Linked DNA regions of Homo sapiens: regions 2, 3, 4 and 5 are each linked to region 1. Evidence: promoter capture Hi-C in human tissues and cell types (Jung and others, 2019). All regions are on one chromosome and are shown on one strand. The core of a region is centred on a gene start or on the middle of the fragment in contact, and the rest is flanking DNA. Distances in the headings are between cores, read along the strand shown. Region 1 holds the start of NBPF1 (NBPF member 1). Region 2 holds the start of MIR3675 (microRNA 3675). Region 3 overlaps LINC01772 (long intergenic non-protein coding RNA 1772). Region 4 has its middle 24 kb from the start of LINC01772. Region 5 has its middle 26 kb from the start of RNU1-4.

Region 1 (3,175 bases), core at 322-2,821:
TTTTTTTTTTTTTTTTGAGACAGGGTCTCACTCTGCCATCCAGGTCGGAGTGCACTGCCATGATCACGGCTCACTGCAATCTCAACCTCCCGGGCTCTGGTGATCCTCCCAACTCAGCCTACCGGGTAGCTGGGACTACAGGCACACGCCACCACACACAGCTAACTTCTGTATTTTTAGTAGAGAAAGGGTTTTGCCACATTGCCCAGGCTGGTCTGGAAATCCTGGGCTCAAGTGATCTACCCACCTTGGCGTCCCAAAGTGCTGGGATTACAGGTGTGATCACTGCGCCCGGGCCACCTGCACATGTAAAATTGTGAACTTCTGTATACTTCAGTAACTTTTCCAAGATTTCTTTGACGCAAAGTTCTCAGAAATCTTAAAGCTAGCATTTCAGAATAGAAAAAGTAGCTTCTGGTTCACTAGTGAAATTTTACCAATAGAATTTAAAAACAAAAAGCTACTAACGCATATCAGCTCAGAACACTACCAGCAGATCTTTTCTTTAACTTCCTGAAGCACTGGGATTCATTCTTTTGGCAAAGAAAGGATGAACAACACTGTAACCCAAAGAAAAGATACCACTGCCAGAAAAGACTTCTTTTCGAAAGCAGCTCTAAGCAAAAGATAGGAGGAAAACAAGGAAGCCAGGCCAAACGTCTTGGTTAACTCTCCGCTGAAAGGACGCCACATGAGATGATCTAAGAAGCCAGCCAGCCAGCCAGACGCAGGGAAATCACAGCAACTCTTTGGAGTGCAAACAGCAACCCCACAATCCAATCTACCCGAAATCCTGCGGTTCATTTGAGGCTTGCCCCGCTAGTCAGGAGGTGATTCAGTGATGGCTACAAATGCTGCTCATGTGCATCCTGGAGCTGGCACACCTGGCTTGCCCATCACCAGCCTGGAGACACCGCCAGGAGCAGAAGCCCGGAGGCCAGTAAAGACCCCAACTTTGCAAGTCAGGGGCGCGAGCGCGCTCGCCTCTCAGGTCCGCAGAGGGAACGGATTTCTGGCCTGGAGGGTGGGGTGCGGGGTCAGTGTCCTCTACAGGATATAGGAGGACGTGCCCCCGAAGCTGCTCCGTCCCTCCACCCCCTGGGATGCCACAGAACACCCGCCAGCGAGTTTCTTCCCCAGCGCCCACGAGAGTTGGGCTGCGGGCGGCAGCGGCAGGCGAAGAATCCAGCGCGGGGAACTCAGGCCCCGGCGGTGCACGACCCCCCACAGCCCCCACCCGCCCCCGCGCTCGCGCAACAAAACTTGCCACGGCCGCGCCTCGACCCAGCTGTGCGCCCGCGGGTCCCGGATTCACCGCCCGCCCAGCCTGGCGCGGCGCCCTCACCTCAGAAACGCTGGGTGGACTTCGCGTAACTTCCCATTCACAGGGCAGCCGGCAGCCGCGCCGCCGCGCCTCGGCCCAGCTCCTGGCGCCGCAGATCGCCCGTCCCGCGTTCCCAAAAGCACCGCGCTCGCTCAGAAGCTCGGGCAGCCTCGCGACCCTCACCTACGCCTCCCAGTACCGCCGCTGTCTCAACCGCCACCCAGCCCCTCGCCTGCGCCTGCGCCTGCAGCCCACTGGCTCCTCAGGATCCCGATGGGCGTGTCAGGATAACCCAAGGCGCAGGCGCGGCGGGGCCTTAAAGGGACCCGGCGGCCTCTTCTGCACAACGGGTTCGAGCAGGTTAGGGGCCGCGCAGGCGGAGGAAAGGAGTAACCCAGGGGAAGGACCGAGTGCAGCGGGGACGGGGAAATCCCTCTCTCCCCTCCGCCTGTCTTTCAAAGCACCAGCCCTCGACCCTCCAAATCGCTGGTTTCCCCGGCCACTTGAACAGCCCCTGCCAGGTTGAAGAGGCAGGAGACACACCCCCTCTGGGGCTGGAGCGACCCCGCGCTTAGGACTGCAGGCCTCGCGCTGCCGCACCGCCCCGAATCTGACTTCCAGGCACGGGCACGCGGTGCAGTCGGGCAGGCTTCAGAAGAGCCCCCAGCTCTCCCAGAGGTGGCCTTAGGTCACTCTCAAAAAGAATAACCAATGTGTCAATGGCACTTGTAGTTATTTTCTAATTTAAATTTATTAACAGATTTTGCAGATGGGCTTCCACTGAAATAAGCCTTTGAGAAAAAGAAAAACTTTTTTTTTCAACAGGATTAGAATACCAAGAAATAGGAAGTAAAGCCATGCCGTCCACCCAGCTAAAAACTTTGAAAACTTGATATTTTATCTAAGGCAAATGTTTGCATAACTTTAGGTCATGCCATTATTTAAAGTCAATTTCAGTTAACAATTTCATTGCAACTGAATCTATCTTGTATAAGAAAACTAAGATACATCCCTGATAATCTACCTCTCCCCTCCTATACTCCATCCGTCAGCAAATCCTACTGGTTTTTACCTTCCAAATTTTCCTTGAATCTGTCCTCTTCTATCTCCTCCGTCACCACCCTAGTCTAGGCTGCCTTCACCTGGGGAGTGAGGGTCGAGGGACTACTGACCTAGTCTTCTTGTGGTTTACCCATATCCCCTTTATCGCCTCTCTAATCTCAACACAACAGGCAGAGTGGCTTTTCCAAAATATAATGTGACCGTGTCACTTCCCAGCCTAAAGCACTTAAACACCTTCCCATTCTCTTAGACAAAACCTCCTAACTAACCAAGCCCCGAATGGCCAGGCGCCTTGCCCACTTCTTCATCTCTTCTCACTACTCAGACCAATTCTGTTCTGCTCTCTCTGCTCCAGCCAAACTGGCCTCTTTTATTCCCTATTTACCAGCTTCCTGGCCTCCACAGAGCTTTTGCTCATGCTTTGCTCTGTGCCTGGAAAGTTCTTCTAACCCCTATTCTTCTGAGAACAGCTGTAGTCTCCACCTCTGAAAAGCACCTTCTGACCTCCCTATGGTGGTCCCTTACTCCTATCACATTGCATGAAACTGTAATCGGGTGGTTATTTTGGTGAATTTTTTACTATCGGCTACGTAAGCCCAGGGTTTGGTTTTGTTTGCTTCATGATTTGTATTTCCACATTTGTTAAATACATATTTGTTCATAAATGAGAATGATGGATGCTAGAAGTTGAAGTAAATTTGGCATAAAGTCAGAGAAAGAGAAAATGTCACAATCTGACAGTTGGAGTCAGAATGTAGAAACTTCAGTTATATTAAAACTGATTTTATA
Region 2 (3,321 bases), core at 450-2,949, 240 kb after region 1:
GAGAGCATTAAACTTGCAGCATGCAGAAATAGCTTGTCCTACATTCTTGTGGCTATCCTAACTAGATAAGGCCATGTTAATAATGTCTTGAGAAACATCAGTGTGTGTGGAATGAACACAGGATGTTGGAGGATTTGAATTCAGGCTCTGCCACGTGCTAGTTTGAGTGATCTAGAACAAGCTGGTTTACCACCTCTCTTTAAGTTTTGGTTTCCCCAGTCAGTAAAATAGAGAGTGGTGAAACCTAACTTGTGGGTATAAGGAGGATAAGAAATACTGTATTTGAATGCCTAGTACAGTGTCAGGGTTGAATAAAGTACGACTTCACCTTTTTCCCTAGTAATTATTATCCTCATGACCAAACCTGCCTCCTCTCAAAGGCAGTGGCCACAACAGCACATCCAACTTTTATTCAGGAAGACATCTTTGTCTTTTTTCAGAGCATGAGGAGCACAGCAGCCGCAAGGAAATGGTCCTGGTGGAGGGGCTGTGCTCTGAGCAGGGGCGCCGGGGCTGAACGCTGGCTAGTTCCTCTGAGAGGAAGCCCTTGGAGAATGAACTAGGGAAGCAGGAAGAGTTCTGGGTATATGGAAAGTCAGAAAACATCTGGGTCCTATGAAAGGACATCAAAGATCTGAAGGCCCAGCTGCAGAATGCCAACAAGGTCATTCAAAACTTCAAGAGCCAGGTCCAGTCCCTCTCAGTTACAAGTGATTATTCATCTAGTCTGGAAAGACCCTGGAAGCTGAGAGCTCCTGACACCCTGGAGGGGTCTTCACCTCATAGTGTCACTGATGAGGATGAGGTGTGGCTGTCTGATGGCACTGGGGCTTTCTACTCTCCAGGACTTCAGGCCAAAAAGGACCTGAAGAGTCTCATCCAGAGAGTATCCCAGCTGGAGGCCCAGCTCCCAAAAAATTGACTAGAAGGGAAGCTGGCTGAGGAGCTGAGATCAGCCTCATGGCCTGGGTAAGGATGGCACTGTCTGGGCACTTTCTGGATTGAAAATGTGTAAGTTTGTGCTTGGTGTAGGGTAGCTCAGGCAGTTGGAAGAAACAACATGTCTGGGTATTCACAAGGACACTGATTTAAATGGTAGATATAGGTCTGTGGAAAAGACAGGTAGGCAAGCAGGAGGGCATAGGATGATGTCCCAGTATCTGGGAGATACCAGATCTCAGGGATTTCCTCTTAGGGATATATCAGTAAAGTAATAGTACATATGGTATAGTATAGTATAGTATAGTATAGTATAGTATAGTATAGTATAGCATAGTATAGTGGTAATACTGGAATCAGACTGCCTAGCTCTGATGCTTACTACCCATGCAACCTTCTTAACCTTTCTGAGCCTTTGTCATTACCTATTAAATGAGGATGATAACAGAACCCATCTCAAAGGGTGGATATTAGGTTTAAATGAATTAATACAAGTGCTGGCCAGGTGTGGTGGCTCATGCCTGTAATCCCAACATTTTGGGAGGCTGAGGTGGGCAGAACACCCGAGGTCAGGAGTTCGAGACCAGGCTACCCAACATGGTGAAACCCTGTCTCTACTAAAAATATAAAAATTAGGTGGGCATGGTGGTGCACCCCTGTAATCCCAGCTACTCAGGAGGCTGAGGCAGGAGAATCGCTTGAACCTGGGAAGTGGAGGATGCAGTGAGCCGAGATGGTACCACTGCACCCCAGCCTGGGTGACAGAGCAAGACTCTGTCTCAAAAAAAAAAAAAAATTAGTACAAGTGCTTAGAATGGTGCCCAGCATACATTAAGCTCTCAATGCTATTTGCCATAGTTATCAGTGTTATTGACACTTTGTGTTGAAAACACAGACATTCATCTTGGTATGCGTCCTGGTTATCTACTGCTAAGTAAGAACCACTCTAAAACTTAGTGACTTCAAACAGTACTTTATTATGCTTCATGGTTCTGTGGTTTGACTGGGCTCAGCTGGGTGGCTCTCACTTAGGGTCTCTTGTTTTGGGTCTCATCAGTTGATGGCATGAGAGTTTATGTGATGGCCATGATTGCAAAATACAGTCAGCCACAGTATCACAACACAGAAGAAATTCAGACATCAGGTGGTGGTTAAAACAGAAGACATGAAAGGTCCTATCTAGACTTAGGATGAGATGAGTCTAATTATTCATTGAGTATCTGCTGTGAATCTCTGTGATGCTGGTGCTGTAAGGGATGTGAAACGCAGAACTATCTTCATTCTCACAGACCTTACGATTTATCTAGGGACATATAATTAACATATATAGAACAGTTGAAGAACAGTGGCATGGTAAATTTTTTGTTTTGTTTTGTTTTGATACAGAGTCTCACTCTGTCACCCAGGCTGGAGTGCAGTGGTGCCATCTCGGCTCACTGCAACCTCTCCCTCCCAGGTTCAAGCAATTCTCCTCCCTCAGCCTCCCAAGTAGCTGGGATTACAGGCATGTGCCACCATGCCCAGCTAGTTTTTTTGTGTGTTTTTAGTAGAGGAGGGGGTTTCACCATATTGGCCAGGCTGGTCTCGAACTTCTGACCTTGTGATCTGCCTGCCTCAGCCTCCCAAAGTGCTGGGATTACAGGCGTCAGTCACCACGCCCGGCCCATACTAAATTTTTAGTGCAATAATTTATCAGGGTAGAATTTACTCTTAAATACCTCCTATGGCTTACGTGCCAGAATTCAGTTTGGGGGAGTTCCTTAGAGATGTTCTCATAGAAATCTCTACAGAAGCCCCATAACTTATCATCCACCCTTTCCTCTTCTGTCCTGCATTAGGAAATATGATTCCCTGATTCAGGATCAGCCCCGGGAACTGTCTTACCTACGGCAAAAAATACGAGAAGGGAGAGGTGTTTGTTATCTTCTCACCCAGCATGCAAAAGATACAGTAAAATCTTTTGAGGATCTCTTAAGGAGCAATGACATTGACTACTACCTGGGACAGAGCTTCCGGGAGCAACTGGCCCGGGGAAGCCAGCTGACAGAGAGGCTCACCAGCACACTCAGCACCAGTAGGTTGGCCACAGGGCTTTGGATACTCTCAGTCACCCCACAGTTCCAGCCCCTGGTGGCCACCACATCTCCACTGCAACTTTTTAACGTAGGGTCCTGTTTCTATTTCATTTCCTGGGGCTAATACAGGATCAAGACTGCTCAATGGGGAGCATGGAGAGGAACACACAGGGCTGGAGATGCCATGGTTACAACTCTAGAAACTTCACCACTCATGGAATGTGACCTGTGGGGCAGGGGCGGCATCTCTCTGGTGCTAAGAGGGAGTAGGGGACATGACATGGAAGGGCCTTGTTATAGGAGGAAG
Region 3 (3,217 bases), core at 683-3,182, 150 kb before region 1:
GGGTGGAAATCAGAAAGCTTAGATGTAGAGGAAGCTTTATTAGAAGTGTGTACCATGGCTGGGTGTGGTGGCTCATGCCCACAATCCCAGCACTTTGGGAGGCCGAAGTGGGTGGCTTACTTGAGGTTAGGAGTTCGAGACCAGCCTGGCGAACATGGTGAAACCCCGTCTACTAAAAATACAACAATTAGCCAGGCATGGTGGCGCACGCCTGTAATCCCAGCTACTTGAGAAGCTGAGGCATGAGAATTGCCTCCAGGAAGTGGAGGTTGCAGTGAGCTGAGATCATGCCACTGTACTCTAGCCTGGGCAACAGAGCAAGACTGTCTCAAAAGGAAAAAAAAAAAAAGTATGTACCATTGAAGATCAGCACTTGGATTGTGGAGACAGACCTGGCCTTAGGATCTAGGCTATCCCCTGGTTAGACGTGTGGCCACAGGCTGTTCCTTCACCTGAGCGTCACTCGGATGAGGCACTAGCAGATGCACATTGCATTGTTTGACCTTAATGACCTTTCTCTGGAGTCAGGTAAGTACCCAGAACAGTTCATCATGGTAGGGAGGAGGAGGTGGCACAGCTGATGACACAGCCCTCAGGAATCTAGCCTGAAAAGCACCTTGTGGGGTCTGGGGCCAGGAGCAAGGGACAGCTTGATGCTGTCCATCACTAACTGGAATCCCAGCTGGAAAAAACTCATTACAGGACCAGAATCTCCAGGAAAACTCAATCCCAAACCAGGCATCACTTCAATTACACCCCTGACTGGAGTTTACAAACTGGTGGGTGGATGGTAGAAGATGGCTGCTTTCTTGGGGGGTATGCTAGACCTCACTTGCCCTCTGCACAACAGAATTTGGATGCACTGGGAGGTGTGGCAGATAGACTCCCAGGTGGTCACTGTGATCCCCACCTGCTGTTCACAGCCTTATGTACTCCCTGCCCCTTGAGATGGCCTAGACCTGTGACTGCTAACCAGTAGAGTGCCACAAAGGTGACAAGATGTTATTTTCATGGTTGCCTTATGTAAGACTGCAACATCTGCCTTGCTGAGAAATTCTCTTGCTGGCTTTGAAGAAGGAAGCTGTCATGTTGTGTGAGCTGCCCTTGGGAGAGGGTCAGGTGGCTAGGAACTGAGGTAGCCTCTGACAGCCAACAAGAAACTGAAGCTCAGTCCAGCAGTCTGCAAGAAAGCAAATGCTGCCAGCAACCACACAAGCTTGGAGGCTGATCACTCCCAGGTAAGCCTTCAGGTGAGACCCCAGGCCTGACCAACACTGACTGCAGCCTTGCAGAGGACCAGCTAAGCTGTGCCCAGACTGTCCCATAGGAACAGATGGTAAATGTATTGTGTTAAGTCGCTAAGTTTCTGGTAAGGTTATGCAGCAATAGATAACCAACACAAAGGTTAGCAAAGTGTGTTTGAGGTGGGAATCAGTGTGGAAAAGAGAGAATCTGGATAGACTTAATAGCTGTAGGGCCTTGGGAGGTCCCTTATGATGCTCCTTTGGGCCTTCCTGTTGCCTTTAAGTAATGCTTATTGTTTATTGCTAAAGTAATGCTTAACTCTCTGCTAGGCACTATTCTATGCACTTATAAAACTCATTGCATCATCTCTACAACCCCATGAGGTAAGGACTTGTTTTTTTTGTGTTTTGAGACAGTCTCGCTCTGTGGCCCAGGCTGGAATGCAGTGGCATGATCTCAGCTCACTGCAACCTCTGCCTCCTGCGTTCAAGCAGTTCTTCTGCCTCAGCCTCCGAGTAGTTGTGATTACAGACGTGTGCCAGTACTTCCGGCTAATTTTTTTGATTTTTAGTAGAGACGGGGTTTCATCATGTTGGCCAGGCTGGTCTCAAATTCCTGACCTCAAGTGATCAGCCTGCCTTGGCCTCCTAAAATGCTGGGATTACAAGTGTGAGCCACCGCACCTGGCCAGTAAGTACTTGTTTTAGTCTATTTGGGACTATGACAGAATAACATAGCCTGGGTAGTTTATAAACAAAAGAAATTTTTTGCTCACAGTTCTGGAGGCTGGGAAGTCCAAGGCACCAGCAGATTCGGTGTCTGGTGAGGCCGTCTTTTTGCTGTAACCTCACATGGTAGAAGGGGCAATAGAGTACTCTGGGGACTTTTTTTTTTTTTTTTTTTTTTTTTTAAGAGATGGAGTCTTGCTATATTGACCAGGCTGATCTCAAACTCCTGGCCTCAAGTGATCCTCCTGCTTTGGCCGCCCAAAGTGCTGGGCTTAAAGGCATGAGCCACCACATGGGAATGGCACTGCCTTTTTTTTTTTTAAAGATAGTTTTGCTCTTATTGCCCAGGCTGGAGTGTGATCTTGGCTCACTATAACCTCTGCCTGTTGGGTTCAAGCAATTCTCCTGCCTTAGCCTCCCAAGTAGCTGGGACTACAGGCACATGCCACCACGCCCAGCTAATTTTTGTATTTTTAGTCAAGATGGTGTTTTGCCTTATTGGCCAGGCTGGTCTCAAACTCCTGACCTCATGATCCACCTGCCTCAGCCTCCCAAAGTGCTGGGATTATAGGCGTGAGCCACCACACCTGGCTGGGGCTTCCTTATAAGGGCAATACTGTTTGTGAGGGCTCTACGCTTATGACATAATTACCTTCCAAAGAACTCACCTCCAAATACCATCATACTAGGGGTTAGGTTTCAGTATGAATTTGGAGGTGGGGGTGGACACAAATGTTTATAGCAGTACTCATCCCTGTTTCGAAAATGAGAAATGCAGAGAAATTATATAATTTGTTCAAAGTCACATGGTTGGTAAGTGGCAGAGCTGGGATTTGAACCCAGGCAGTCTGGCTCCAGCATCCATGCTTTTAGTCAGGGTGGCTACTTCTTTGGAGCAGTGCTCCCTGCAAAGCCTGGCACATAAGACCCCCTTAATATATGAAAAGTCCCATTCCCTCCACATGGCTTACGAAAGCCGTGGCAAGTAGGAATGACAGGCGAAGGGTGGGGCTTTATTCCATTGGTGATTGAAAGCTACTGAAATGCATCATGGGCACACAGTAGGTGCTTAATAGTTGTCGATTTCTATGAGCTGGGAGTGAGAAAGATACCATGCTCTGTGGACTGAGTGGACTGGAGTAGGGAAAAGACCAATTTTTCCTCACCGCAGCTTGAATGTAGACAGATACTGTTTTTTTTTTTTTTTCTTTTTTTTTTTTTTTTTTTTTTAGCCAACCATACAA
Region 4 (3,058 bases), core at 435-2,934, 130 kb before region 1:
AGTGCAGAGCCACACGCATAAGGCTCCACTGATGTTATGCCCAGCCGCCGACTTATTCTTCAGCACCCCCAGCTCAGACCTCCCCGGCACCTTCTCAGGAGCTCTTTGGCGCTCCGCAGCCGCTGCACCTCGCGCTGGGCGTCCTCGTGGGCCTGCATGGTGCTGTCGGTCTTGTCCCGCAGGCGCTGCAGCTGTTCCTCTAGGGCCCGCCGCTCACTCTCGCTGTCGCTAAGCTGCTTCCGCAGGGTGCCCAGCAGGTCCTGGCTTGCCTCATAGCGCCCACGCATGTCCTGGGGCGCGGGGATCACAGAGTCTAGCGGGGGTCCTTTGAGGCCTCCAGAGCCCACCTACTCTCTTCTGGTTCCAGGGATACACACTAGCCTACGCTAGGCGGGGTCCAGGGCCTGGACCTGGCCTGGGGCAGGATAGGGGCCTAGGCCTGAGAGCCAGGCTCCCGCTCCCCTCCTATGTGCCCTCACCACCCTCTGAGCCCTCACCTCCCTGGGGTCCCGGACAACTCCTATCAAAGCCCCCCGGATGCCAGACAAACCCCCAGGCACACTCGTCTCCTGGGTTCTGACCCCACCCCCAGGGCTCCCAGGCTCCTCCTCCTTGCATCCTGGTTCCACTCTCAGACTCCTCCCTACCCTGGCTCTGCCCCTAGTTCCCAAGCTCTGATTCCCCTTGCTAGACCTTTTCCCAGGGTCCTGGCTCTGTAGACCAGGGACCTGTCTCCCTCTCTACCAGGACCCTAACACTGCCGCAGCCTCCTCCCTCCACCTGCCCAAGCGCCCACCCCCAGCTGCCCAAGCACCCCTACTTCTGGGCTGGCTTCACCGCAGAGCTCTCGGCCACCTCCTTCGGGATCCTGACACCCTCAGACACTTTCTCAGAGCTCTGGCTGCACCCCAAGGCGCTCGGACTCCTCCCCCGGACCCTGGCCCCGGACCTGCCCCCGCCCCGCCCCTACCCGGAGGGCGCCAGACGCTCCCTCCAGGCCTCTGGCTGAGCCCAGAACGCTCAAGCCCCTTCCTACCTGGACCTGCAGCTCGTGCTTGTGTAAGGTGGAGTGGATCAGGGCGAGCGTGGAGGAGTCTGAGCAGGCCGGGGAGGGGCCTCGGCGGGGTGAACGGCCTCGGCCGGGCGAGGAGCGCCGCGGTGGGGACGGGGTCTGCTGGGCCGAGAGCCCCCGCAGGCTGCCGAAGGAGTCATCCGCGGTGCGCTCGGAGCCGCTCAGCTGGACGCCGCTCTGTGTCCGACAGGACGGACTGAGGGTAGGGGAGGCAGGCAGAAGAAGGCCTCAGAGTTAGGAACCGCAGTGTTAGCTGGCAAAGACGCCCAGGTGAGGCTGGGGGCCGCCTCATCCCAAATGCTCCCTCTTACAAGAATCCTTCCTGATTTCACCTCCTCCGCTAGCTCAGTCCTCAGCTCACAGGTGGCCTCCAAAAGGGCCGTGCCTCCCCTCTGAGACTGGGGGCTCCCCAGGGCCGGGGGTGCTGAGCAGCTACAGCCTGGGTCCCAGGCCCCCACCCATTTGCAGTTCAGTCCCAGGCCACCAAAAGTCGTGGCGGGGGAGCCCAGGACTGCCTGGCAGTGCCCTGTCTTCCCACCTCTTTGGGCTCACACCTGTGCCAGGTCCCTTAGGCTCTGCTGTAGCCCCTCTCCGTCCTCTGTCTCCAGGGCCACCTGCTCCTGTAGCCGCAGGGATTCCTGGAGTGTAGTTAGGGAGACAAAGGGTGGTCCTGGTTCTGTCTTATCTGAAACCTCCCATTCCCCTCCCTTCCTGGTCCACCACTGACCAGGTGGCCTCTGAAGCTATGTCCATAGGCCAGACATCTGGTAGACCCCACAGCAGGCCCGAGGCCCTCAATGAACAGACCAGGCGCAGAGAACAGCTGTGTCCTGCCCCAGGTCACACAGTCGATTGGAGGAGAGCCGGACCTAGAACCCAGGCCAGGCCCCACACAGAGGGGTGACCAAACCAGGCTGTACCCTGGGGGAGTGAGTGTCCCACTAGTGGGGATGGGCAGCTGGGATTCCAGAGGCAGCATCTGGACCTGGAGAGCACGGATGGGAGTTCAAGTCCCGACTCTCCAGCTTACTGGCTCTGAGACTGGACAAGCATTTCCCCTCTTGGGCCTCAGTTTCCCCATCTGTGTCATGAGGATTATGCTACAGGGCTGCTGGGAGGAAGAAATGGGATGGAGGAGGTGAATGTTCTTACCACAAAGCCTGCACACCTGTGAGGGCTGAACCTGAGTGTGAGTGGGATGCTGGGGGTGGTCCAGGCAGCCCAGCCCTAAGCCTGCGTCCATGGATCTGGCCGGTACCCCATCCCACCCTGCCCCATCTCAGGGGCAGCTGCAGCTCACCAGGGCCTCAAGCTTCTCAGTGAGGTCCGTGTTGACCTGATCCTTCTCCGGATTCTGCTTCTGAAGACGCTTCACTGCCAGGCCCAGCTCTGTCACTCTGGAGTTGGGGGAGCAACAGAGGTGAATACGGGACCACCCCAGCCTCTCAAATCCACTAGCTCTGTGTCCACCATGCTTCTCCAAACCCGAGGGAGGGACCCTAACATCCACCTCCCTGGCTGTGTGACCTTAAACAAGTTGTGGCTCCTCTCCAGACCTCACACTTCTCATCTGTGAAATGGGAATGAGGTTCCCACCAGCTTTATCTCATGGGAAAACACTGGAGGACTTGTCCAGGTAGCAGGAGTAAGGGGCACAAGTTGTTTTTTTGTGGTTTTCTTTTGAGACAGAGTTTCGCTGTGTCATCCAGGCCGGAATACAGCGATGTGATCTTGGCTCACTGCAACCTCCACATCCTGGGTTCAAGCGATTCTCCTGTCTCAGCCTCCCTCGTAGCTGGGATTAGAGGCACACACCACCACACCCGGCTAAGTTTTGTATTTTTAGTAGAGACAGGGTTTCGCCTGTTAGGCAGGCTGGTCTTGAGCTCCTGACCTCAGGTAATGCCCCACCTTGGCCTCCCAAAGTGCTGGGATTACAGGTGTGATCCCGGCCACAAGTTCTGTCATAAGAGGCTAAGCTGTTTA
Region 5 (3,209 bases), core at 41-2,540, 150 kb after region 1:
CTGGGCTGCTGCTTCTCCCTTTACTTTTAAAAATTGTTTTGCCAGTAAAGTCTCATCTATTGTACATTCCTTGTTACGGGGAAACTCAAGTGGCTGTACAGGCTGTTCTTGGAGCCACAGTTAAAAGCGCTTTGACTCAAACACACATGTGGCGTCATCCTGAGCTCCGTTTGCGTGGGGCCGGAACACCGGACTAGGAAACCTCTCCCTGCTTTAGCAACTGAGTGTGGCTAGATTGAGGGACCACAGGGGGTGGCTCTGGATGCAGCAATCCAAGTCCCCTTTTCAGGGAGGGTGACCTCTTTCCGAAGTTCAGTGGATGGCCCCCTTCCAGGGTTAGGGAGACAGGAGGAGGAGGAAGAAGAAAAGGAGGAGGAAAGCTCTCAACAGCCCCCCACCCCCAACCCATCCAGGAGAGAAGGACTGCAGTCCCCGAGACCAGCTGGAGGAGTGGCGTGTGCATGGTGTGCCCTCAGGGTAGAGCGCGCCATCTTGGAGAGATGCCTCTTTCATTCACAAAGCGGATCTGTTGCAGAGCCCAGAGCCCCGGGGAGAGCAGGGCGGCGTCCAAGTGCTTGCTGGGTTTGGCTTGCACTCCCTCTCCCTTAAAGAAGACAGAGGCGGAAGGGAGAGGCTGTTCTTCGGAGGCGAGCCTCAGGCACTGCTAGACTTAGTAGGAAAGATATTGCTGGGGTCTTGGCAAGCCGTAGGTGCAGCGCTCCCCATCGTCATTCCGGTGCGGCTGGTTACTGTCACCCTGCCTCCTCCCCGCCGGCCTGAGAGCCTCTCTGTTCCAGATCCAAACATTTCCACATTAGGCAGCCTGCATGTGCATTTCCCTGGCAGTGGAGGGAAAGGCACCCCTGTGACCTGGGATGACCGACGACGGGGACTTGCCCTCCTCCCCCACAGGTGCACTTGCTCTTTTCTGGGCCAGCCTTGTGATCTGGTGTCCGGGCACTTGGCAGCATTTAGCAAATGTTCCTCAGTGCTCTGTTTGGTAGTTAATGCTGTTGACACGGACACCTTTGGGAGCACGTGGGAGAAGCTGCTGCCTCCGTTTCCCCCGGGTTACAGCGCCTGGCGCAGTCTGTTGTCCCCTCAGAAGTGGTGGGCGACATTATCTCCTTTTTCATCCCTAGCCCTCTCCCTTGAAGCTGTCCTGATCTCTCTTTTGGACCCAGGAACGTGAGCAGAGGTTACTACTCACTATATATACACACTGCATCTAGACTCATGCATGCCTTCTTGGTGTCAAGGACACCTCACATTTCAAAGACTTCATGAAAAAGAACGTGAGGTATCTCACACGGTGACATGATAAAGCTTTGGACAACGTGGGTTAAGCTAAAAACAGGTCATTACAATTAATTGTATCTCTGTCTTTTGACCCTTCAGTGGCTCCTGAAATCCATCACACATGTGGCTTGCAAGTATTTTGGTCGGACAACGCTGCCGTAGATTGTCCCACTCTGAAATGGTTCCCTCTGGGCTTACGGGACTGCTATAGAAGGGTCCTAAGGTCCTGTGCCTCCCTGCTTTTCAAGTGGCTGCAAACTTCTGTGCCTACCGCTTCCTCCACTGGATGTTTCCTTCCTGCCCTCCTCCCTGAGGACCTCCTAGTCCCTCTTCAGGATGCAGAGCTGGAGCCTCCACTCCAGGAAAGCCACTCATGTTGTTGCCAACACAACCCCCTGCACACATGCAGTATTAGGCATTGGTCTGCCTGGCTGTCCCTGGGCTGTGCTGTCCTTGAGGGCAGTTTTTGTGTCTAATTCCCAGAGAGTGCAAGAACACAAGCATGCTCATCCAGACGTTAGTAAGCTGCCCTAAGGGGTGGAGCAGTCAGATTCCGGTTTTATTTATTTTTCCCCTGCAAGGAGCAATCAATTATTAACCGAAGTCACGATACTTTGGTTGCTGTTATCAGCACATGAAAATATCAGTCAAGGCTGGGTTTCAGACCCGCCTGGCACTATTCAAAGGAAATTTTTTAGTAATTCTTATTTTATTAAGAGCACTAGTATATTCAGATCAAGTAAAACTTCACATATAACAGGTTCACTCTTCTATATGAAATGTTTGTGGGAAATCTATCATGCATCAGGTGCTCTCAAAAGGTGGTGAGGTGTAAATGTCAGCCTCAAAGGCTGCAGTGTCCAACATGGCACACAGCTTGTGTGGCTCTTAGCACCTGAAGCATGCCTCGTCCACAGTGAGATGTGCCGAAAATGTAATATACATCCAGATTTTGAAGACTTGGTAAAATATCTCACCAGCAATTTTTTATATTGATTACATGAGGAAGTGATAATGTTTTGGGTTGGTTAAGTTAAACGTATTATTAAAATTCATCTCACCTGTTTCTTTTTAAAAGTGGCTTCTAGAGAATTTTAAATAACATGTAGTTCACATTATATTTCTATGAGACAGTGCTGCTCTAAGGCGATTATGCTTTGTTTGTTTTGAGACACTCACAGGTGTATGTGAGCATTTCAACCGGGTTTATAACAGCTTAGGAAACTGGGAACTTTGACTTGGAACTTTCCCGCCAAGTGACAAAACATCCGTCCAGTGATAGAAGTTTTAATTCTACTTCCTCCAGCTAGATCTTGCCTGGAGGACCCACGTTGACTTACTCTCTCCAGAAACGGCCCCACTGGCTCTCTGGGGGAACTCCTGGGTTCTGCAGGGACTTGCTAGGTAGTAATTACAGGTGTGTAGAGACCCTCCTGCTTCATACGCTCAGTCATCATTATTTACTTTTACCAGGCACCAGGGGCGTGATGAGAGCTTAGCTGAAAGGAGAGAAGACTCAGCAAGCACATCACCTTGAAGCTGACCTGTCAGCCAGATTTCGCAGCACCTGCCTGTTCCAGCCTGAGGGGCTGCGATTCATTCCTTGGGAAAGAGAGCTGCAAATTCCCTCTCTAGGCCACAGTCCAAATCCTTGCTCTTCTCTCTCAGGTTCTGGAAGACAGAATGGAGGCATCTACAGAGCAAGGACATGTTTTCTACCTGAATTAGCTTTTCTGACACCTTGAAACCATCTCTAAGAAATTGATTTTTTAACATACACATATACAGGTAAACATTTAAATCTGTGCCATAATGTATTTGCACTTCGAGTCCCCCTGAAGTCCTAAGTCACATGCTTCTCTTCCTAGGGGTTCTGTCTGAAGCAGAGACCCCTGGATTGGAGCAGTGGG

The links. Contacts are between HindIII fragments. The study calls those that stand out against the background at their distance.
Region 2: a contact is called between a fragment that was not itself captured here and the fragment with the promoter of NBPF1 in region 1, in 2 of the 25 tissues and cell types used here (neural progenitor cells and pancreas).
Region 3: a contact is called between a fragment that was not itself captured here and the fragment with the promoter of NBPF1 in region 1, in 1 of the 25 tissues and cell types used here (pancreas).
Region 4: a fragment that was not itself captured here is called in contact with the fragment with the promoter of NBPF1 in region 1 in 2 of the 25 tissues and cell types used here (H1 embryonic stem cells and stomach).
Region 5: a fragment that was not itself captured here is called in contact with the fragment with the promoter of NBPF1 in region 1 in 2 of the 25 tissues and cell types used here (pancreas and psoas muscle).

Annotation. Positions count from the first base shown.
Region 1 is chr1:16,611,993-16,615,167 of GRCh38, forward strand. NBPF1 (NBPF member 1) reads right to left here and starts at 1,572. Exons shown (of 18, transcript NM_001405701.2): 1 at 1,346-1,572. RefSeq lists an enhancer at 1,416-2,373. The HindIII fragment of the contact is 9,860 bases long and covers 1-3,175 here.
Region 2 is chr1:16,856,272-16,859,592 of GRCh38, forward strand. MIR3675 (microRNA 3675) reads right to left here and starts at 2,750; the gene lies at 2,678-2,750. It also overlaps the pseudogene PDE4DIPP9. The HindIII fragment of the contact is 7,627 bases long and covers 1-3,321 here.
Region 3 is chr1:16,461,353-16,464,569 of GRCh38, forward strand. LINC01772 (long intergenic non-protein coding RNA 1772) reads left to right here. Exons shown (of 2, transcript NR_147210.1): 1 at 1-1,935. Among named protein-coding and RNA genes, the nearest start is that of LINC01772, 2.0 kb to the left of the region's middle. The HindIII fragment of the contact is 3,814 bases long and covers 26-3,217 here.
Region 4 is chr1:16,483,197-16,486,254 of GRCh38, forward strand. It overlaps the pseudogene CROCCP3. Among named protein-coding and RNA genes, the nearest start is that of LINC01772, 24 kb to the left of the region's middle. The HindIII fragment of the contact is 7,677 bases long and covers 1-3,058 here.
Region 5 is chr1:16,765,299-16,768,507 of GRCh38, forward strand. No RefSeq gene overlaps it. Among named protein-coding and RNA genes, the nearest start is that of RNU1-4, 26 kb to the left of the region's middle. RefSeq lists an enhancer at 141-641. The HindIII fragment of the contact is 4,732 bases long and covers 1-3,209 here.